Linked DNA regions of Homo sapiens: region 1 is linked to region 2. Evidence: promoter capture Hi-C in human tissues and cell types (Jung and others, 2019). All regions are on one chromosome and are shown on one strand. Each heading gives the region's core, a stretch centred on a gene start or on the middle of the fragment in contact. The rest is flanking DNA. Distances are from core to core; before and after follow the strand shown.

The links. The method cuts DNA at HindIII sites, captures the fragments that hold promoters and counts their contacts. A contact is called where the count stands out against the background at its distance.
Region 1: a fragment that was not itself captured here is called in contact with the fragment with the promoter of OPN1SW in region 2 in 3 of the 25 tissues and cell types used here (adrenal gland, dorsolateral prefrontal cortex and stomach).

The regions. Positions count from the first base shown.
Region 1 is chr7:128,594,912-128,598,778 of GRCh38, forward strand. No RefSeq gene overlaps it. Among named protein-coding and RNA genes, the nearest start is that of LINC01000, 44 kb to the right of the region's middle. RefSeq lists a silencer at 3,355-3,518. The HindIII fragment of the contact is 6,994 bases long and covers 1-3,867 here.
Region 2 is chr7:128,773,505-128,777,267 of GRCh38, forward strand. It overlaps OPN1SW (opsin 1, short wave sensitive), which reads right to left and starts at 2,290. Exons shown (of 5, transcript NM_001385125.1): 1 at 1,935-2,290; 2 at 1,482-1,650; 3 at 994-1,159; 4 at 145-384. The coding sequence starts at 2,277. RefSeq lists cis regulatory regions at 2,276-2,843, 2,284-3,278, 2,287-3,763, 2,287-3,763, 2,287-3,386 and 1 more. The HindIII fragment of the contact is 13,114 bases long and covers 1-3,763 here.

The DNA.
Region 1 (3,867 bases), core at 38-2,537, 180 kb before region 2:
AATCTGGAAGCAGTTTCCCTTCCAGTATTTCAGAGGATATGACCTTCGCATCAGAACTCATCTGACGTAATTCATTAGCGACTGTTGATCACTTCTTTCTTCTCTAAGCATACGGTCTTCACTCGGCTTCCACTCTTGATTTTTCCTCACATCCTCTATCTCTGAACATTAGAGTGTTCCAGGGCTCTGTCTTCAGATTCATTTATCTACCTTCATTTTCTTCTTAACCTCCCTCTCTCTCTCTTTTTTTTTTTTTTTTTTTCAATTGAGACAGGGTCTCACTCTGTTGCCCAGGCTGGAGTGCAGTGGTGCAATCTCAGCTCACTCCAACCTCCATCTCCTGGGCTCAAGCGATTTCCCCACCTCAGCCTCCCAAGTAGCTGGGAGTACAGGCGTCTGCTACCACGCCTGGCTGATTTTTTAGTAGAGACAGAGTATTGCCATGTTGGCCAGGCTGGTCTCAAACTCCTGACCTCAAGTGGTCCTCCCGCCTCGGCCTCCCCCAAAGTTCTGGGATTACAGACGGGAGCCACCACACCCAGCCTTCTTAATCTCATCTAGTTCCTTTGTTACTAAAACTTAACTCCTATGTGCAGAGGATTTCCAAGTTTATGCGTCCAGCCCAGAGCTCTGCCCTGAATTTCAGGCCTGTGTCAGTTGCCTCCAGTCATTTCCTTTTTATGTCTAACAAACATATCAAATGTAACATGTTCAAAACTGAACTCTTCCTTCTGTTCCCCACCCGAAACCCATTTCTCCTACGGCCGCCTTTCTCCTCCTCCTCCTCCTCCTCCTCCTTCTCCTCCTCTTCCTCTTCTTCTTCTTTCACCTTTCTTCTTTCTTTCTTTTTTTTTTTTTTAAATAGAGACAGAGTATTAGTGTATTACCTAGGCTGTTCTTGAACACCTGAACTCAAGTAATCCTCCCACTTTGACCTACCAAAGTGCTGGGATTTTAGATGTGGGCCACCGTGCCTGACCTCCACAGCCTTCTACATCTCAATAACTGTCAACTTTTCTCCTTCTAATTTTTACAGCTAAAATCCTTGGAGTCATTCTTGTCTTTCTCTTCTTTTTATATTATATGCTAAATCCAAATCTATCAGTAAAGCTTATTGATTTTACCTTCAAAATATGTTCAGAATTTTTTTTTTTTTTTTTTTTTTTGAGATAGAGTCTTGCTTTGTTACCCAGGCTGGAGTGCAGTGGTGCAATCTGGGCTCACTGCAACTTCCACCTCCCAGGTTCAAGCCGGTTCTCCTGCCTCAGCCTCCCAAGTAACTGGGATTACAGGCACGTACCACCATACCCAGCTGATTTTTGTATTTTTAGTAGAGATAGGGTTTCACCATGTTGGCCAGGCTGGTCTTGAACTCCTAACCTCAGGTGATCCACCCGCCTTGGCCTCCCAAAGTGCTGGGATTACAGGCATGAGCCACTGCATCTGGCCTATGTTCAGAATTTTACCACTTCTAATTCTCTTCACTGCTGCCACTCCAACTTAAACCATTGTCTCCCACTGAGATAACTGGACCCATTGCTTTGACCTTTGTTTTCTTTTAATCTGTTCTTAACAAAGCAGAGTGATTGTGTTGAAGCATAAGTCCAGTCATGCCACTCCCCTGTCGAAAAGTCCTTAAAGTGGCCCTGCATGGTTTGTTTTCCTCCACCCTGACATGTTTTACTACTATCTCCCTTTCTCATCAGATTCCATGCACGCTAGCCACCTTGTTTTCTCAAATACTCTCTCTCAGTGATGCTCTCACCTCGGGGCCTTTGCGTTGGCTGTTGCCTTTGCCCTAACATTCTTCACCCATATATCATCATGCCCCGCTCTCTCAGTTCCCTCTGGTTTCTGCTTATATTTACTCTATGAGAGAGGCCTACCTTGGCTACACTATAAAATAGCAACTTCTCCCCACCCACCCCACCTGTTATTGAGCTCCTAGGCCCTGCGTTGTTTTTCTCCTTAGTCTACACCAGCTGACGTACTATGATGGACTTTTGTCTGACTTCCCCCCACTGGAATGTAAGCTCCATCAGGTCAAGGACTTTACTTTGTTCACTTGTGTATCTGCAATGCCCAGAACGGGACCTGCTCTAATAGACACTCAGTGTAATTATATGTTGCATGAGTTAGTAAAAGCATTCTTTATAGAGGGACTGGTTAAATGAATTCTAATACATTTGTACAGTGGAATGCTATACAGCTGACAAAAGAAGTGAGGTAGCTGTATATACACCAATGAAAGGTTTCTAAATATGTGTTGATAAAAATAGGTGGCAGAATATTAAGAATTTGATCTTTTAAATGTTTAAAATTATTACATAATTGTGTGTTTTAACATAGGAAATTTGAGGTTTTATTTTTAAGAGAGAGGTCTCGCTATGTTGCCCAGGCTGGGGTACGGTGGCTATTCACAGGTGCAATCATAGCATTATAGCATACTATAGCCTTGGAACTTCTGGGTTCAAGCAATTCTCTTGCCTCAGTTTCCAGAGTAGCTGCAACTAGAGATTGCACCACAGTAGCTGCAACTAGAGATTGCACCACTGCACTCCAGCCTGGGTGACAAAGTGAGACTCAGTCTCAAAGAAAAAAAAAATTAGTATTTGGCCTCACAGTCTAGTGCTCATTCTATACCACCACACTAGCTCCCAGTATGAAGACTATCTGTTTGTACAAAGACAATATATATCAGGCTAGAGAATAAGATATCTGAGCTGACCTCTCACTTTTAACTTTATGACATTACAACATACATAAAGATCCAGGAAGAAGGGAGATGTAGAGGGATTAGAAAAAGGTCATTTCCTCTTCTATTGGTGAGAATGTTGTCAGGGAAAATCATAAGCAAATAGTTTCCTAAATTATGAAAATAGAACATGTACGTGACCCGCAAGAAATTGAGGAGATGGAGAAGAGTAAAATTCTTCCCTTGGATTTCTCAGAGAGATAACTACTGTTAACAGTTTGTGTTTTGGATTTTCTAAGGATTACCATTTTAATGTCAAATAATGTGTTCCTTATTTAATCTTATTTATTGATTGATTTGTTTGTTGGTGGAGACAGGGTCCCACTGTGTTGCCTAGGCTGGTCTTGAACCATCCTCCTGCCTTGGCCTCTCAAAGTGTGGGGATTACAGGCTTGAGCCACTGTACCTGGCCTTATTTAATCAACTTTAAGTAAGATCTATTTACTCCTTGTTGTGAAGGACAAATTTAACATAACTTTCACCCAGTCTTTCTTTCTTTTTCAGTTGTTTAGTTATTGTTACAGTATGAGTGTTTGATATTTAGTTTGTTATTTTAACTACAATTGAGTCTTTTCTGCTTTGTAAATTATTCTAAGACTTGAAAACAAGGAACATGTACAATATTATGATTGTTTCATTGTTGGGCATTGCAAAACCAAATGATTTTATTGGACTCACTGAAAAGAAAAGAGACATTGAATTAGTTTAGATTGTAACAGTTCTAGTCGTCAAGGTCTACTGGATCTTTTTTTCCCTTAATGGCAAGTCTGTTGTTTCCTTAAAACTTGTGTCTTTTAACATTATGCAGATGTTCTTCAAAACTTGATTTTTTAAAAAGGTAGTTTCCTTTTTTTATGCCAAAGTATTTTAAAATACAATTCAGAAATCTTGACCTCCTATCTCTAAATAGTTAAATAGGCATTTTAAAAAAACATGTTAACATTTTGCTAGATAGCAAAATTAGCATTATAACGTATTTATTAGCATCTATAAGATAGAACTTTCTTCTCATCATCTGTGCCTGTTGCTCTACACTGACATACAGTTCTACTAGAAAGACAGGCTAAATGCTTAGTTCTTTCCTTTTAATTACTAATGAGGCTTTTACATTT
Region 2 (3,763 bases), core at 1,040-3,539:
GCTTCCCAACCTACTCGGGGGTTTTGTGGCTTCCCTCGTCTACTAGAAACCTGGGTAGAGTCCAGGGTGCTCTGAGTTAAAAGTCAATGGTGAGAAAAGAACCAGGGTCTTCTGGACCATAGGAATGTGAATAAAGAGCTTTACCTGCTTATTCATGAAGCAGTAGATGATGGGATTGTAGATGCAAGCACTCTTGGAGAAGAATGAAGGAATGGTGACAAGCCGTAAGTCCAGCCCATGGTTACGGTTGTTGACCATGTACATGGCGAAGGCCGCGTAGGGCACGTAGCAGACACAGAAGGATCCTACCATCACAACCACCATGCGGCTCACCTCCCGTTCAGCCTTCTGGGTCGTAGCTGACTCCTGCTGCTGAGCTGCAACCTGGGGTGGAGCACGGAAAGCATCACATCTCTCTTTTTCCTGGCCCTCTGGATGCTTTTTTTTTTTTTTTTTAATTTTTAATTTTTAATTTTCTTTTTGAGACCGAGTCTCGCTCTGTTGCCCAGGCTGGAGTTGCAGTGGTGCAGTCTCGGCTCACTGAACCTCCACCTCCCGGGTTCAAGTGATTCTTTTGTCTCAGCCTCCTGAGTAGCTGGGGTTACAAGCACACACCACCATGCCCAGCTAATTTTCGCATTTTAGCATTTTGCCATGTAGGCCAGGCTGGTCTGGAACTATTGACCTCAGGTGATCCGTCTGCTTCGGCCTCCCAAAGTGCTGGGATTATAGGCGTGAGCCACTGCGCCCGGTCTCTGGATGCTTTTCTGTGGGATGGGGGAGGGGGCATCCACTCTGATTGCCTCTTTTCTGTCCCATCTCCTGGCCTAGTTCCTTTGGATCTCCATCATTCTCCCTCCTCCTACTTCCTTTGCTGCTTTTAGATACCCTCTCTGGCTATGGACATTTCCAGGCATCTTATGTTTCAGAGCACTCTTCCTTCTCATGTGGAGCCCCGAACCCCTTCTTCCCTGACTATCAAATGCCACTCACAGCTTTCAGGGCCCTCAGCAGCTGAGTGTAGGAGAAGCAGATGAGGGAGAGAGGCACAATGAAGCAGAAGATGAAGAGGAACCACGTATAGGACTCGCTGCGGTATTTGGTGCCCACGGTGTACCAGTCAGGGCCACAGGAACACTGCAGGCCCTCAGGGATGAACCTGCAAAGGACCAAACACTTGCTCACTGGACTCTCCACAAGAGTGCAGTGGGAGCTGAGATGCCTGGATTGTGTTCTCCACTTAGAACCCACGGAATGCCCTAAGGCTTCAAGCAGGGGGGTTTTCTGTCCTGACTGGGAGAAGCTACAGCAATTCCAACTGCAGAGTAAACGTTAGCACTTGTCTCCCACTGCCCTTTCGCCTCATATTGCAACTCTTTAAAAGTAGAGGTCAAAGACTAAATAGTTATACCCAAGCTCTCTTTCCACCCACATCAACCTGAGCTCCTAGTTAACTCAGCACCACTGCCCTGCACTCTCACCGGCTCCAGCCAAAGAAGGGTGGGATGGAGACGCCAATACCAATGGTCCAGGTAGCCAGGACCACCGTCAGTGCATGCTTGGAGCTGAAGCGGAAGTTGCCGAAGGGCTTACAGATGACAATGTAGCGCTCAAAGGCCAGGAAGGCCAGTGACCATCCTGTAACCAGACCTGTGGTGAAATGTGAGGATAATGGGCTAGACAGAGCCCCACCCAGCCTGGCTGGCAGAGTGGCAAACAGATCGGGTGGAGCAAGCACAGAGAGACAGGGCTGGACTGACATTTGGAGTGAAGACTCAAACATCCTATTTTAGCCAAACTTCTAGTCTGGGTTGCTTTGTACCCCAGTATTTTAAAAAGCACCAGACTCATTTCCCCCAGACTCCTCTTTAGGAACCCCCTCCAGTGGAGTAGCAACCTTTGCCTTCCCCTAACCCCTTTTTCCCCTGCAGTACCTGCTACAGTGCCCAGGAAGCCCTCCAAAGCACAAACATGGCGACCGAAGACGAAGTATCCGTTACAGCTGGCGACGAAGACAGGGAAGACAGAGAAGATGCAGAGGAGGAAGCCTCCGAAGGACACGTTGACCAGAATGTAGTTGAGGGGCTGCCGCAACTTTTTGTAGCGCAGTGTGGCCACCAGCACCATGGCATTGAGTGGGAACCCTATAAGGAAGACAGTGCCCATGAAAGCTGCCTGGAGGTAGAAGGCCCAGACAGGGGCAATGTGGTACTGAGGCCCATCCCACGGCCCCACTGAAGAGATATTTTTGAACAGATAAAACTCTTCCTCCGACATTTTTCTCATGGATGCCCCACACCCCCCTCTGAGTCCTCTTATAGGTGATCCTCCCACCCCACAAAACCCCTCCTCTAAAAACACTTGGGCTCTGTGAATGATCAATACTAATCCTAAACCTCCCAAGGACAAAGTTTGGGATTAGAAATCCCTAAACCACTACCTAAACCTTTTGTGGCCCCAAAGCCGATTGTGTTCTTCAGAGGATAAGAGATTGGGCTCAAATAATCTGGATATGCAATGCTGGGTGCTGGGATGAACAGAAGTGGACTCCCTGAGGTCTGGGAGGTGCTGACCCATATTCACTGAAGATGCTTCCACTTTTTTGTTCTTTTAATGGGGCTATAGAAAGGGCACGCCTCTTATTTTGGCTTCTGGCACAACTGTATCAGTTAAGTTTTCCTCAACTCATCTGCCCCTTTGTGGAAGGTGCCCATCTTAAGTCTGCTGAGAGGCTAGGAACCAGCCCTGGGCTGCAGGAAAGGGCTGGGAGTGGGGAGTGCCCTGGAAGCACATCAGTAAACAGCCTTGATGGAACAGGACTTAGGCAACTTGACAATGCCTAGAGGTCTAGGGCATCCCTGAGCCAGGCTGCCTCCATTTCTTTGTGTTGAATCTACTCAAAGAGTGTGCCTTTCCTACTCAGACCTCCAGCCAGGGAGGTGGGTCTGTTCACTGTCCTTACGCCATGTTCATGCCTACCCCTACCCTTAGCTCAACAAGTCGCCACAGTCTTCCTCCTGTCTGTTCATTGAAGTCTTATCTAGCCCTCACAGCCTACCTCACAAACACCTCTTCTGTGCAGCCCACCCCAGTGACACCAACTCTGCTTTAAGTTCCACCTGCACTTGTACTCAGTACTACACTTTAGGCTTTATGAATGAATCTTTTCCACCTCAGCAGATCATAAATATATAGATGAGTTGGCCGGGCGTGGTGGCTCAAGCCTGTAATCCCAGCACTTTGGGAGGCTGAGATGGGTGGATCACAAGGTCAGGAGATCGAGACCATCCTGGCTAACGGTGAAACCCCGTCTCTACTAAAAATACAAAAAATTAGCTGGGTGTGGTGGTGGGCGCCTGTAGTCCCAGCTACTTGGGAGGCTGAGGCAGGAGAATGGCGTGAACCCGGGAGGCGGAGCCTGCAGTGAGCCGAGATCACGCCACTGCACTCCAGCCTGTGGGACAGAGCGAGACTATATATATAGATGAGTTAAAAGTGACACACTTTAGGTATAAGTAAGTTTAAAAGTGAAAGGATGGTCCAGTAATGGCAGAATAGTTTATTAGATGAATGCCCCCTTAGGCAAAAAAATTGTAAACTGGACACAATATGAAAAACAACTTTTTGAAAACACCTAAAGTATCCAAAGCAGGCAGAAACTGAAAGGAACTCAACTCTTCAATGAAAAGAACCATCTACATTGTTGTTTTTTTTTTTCCCTGAGTGTACTCCCGAGTATAAATGGCACAGGATAGCTAGAACT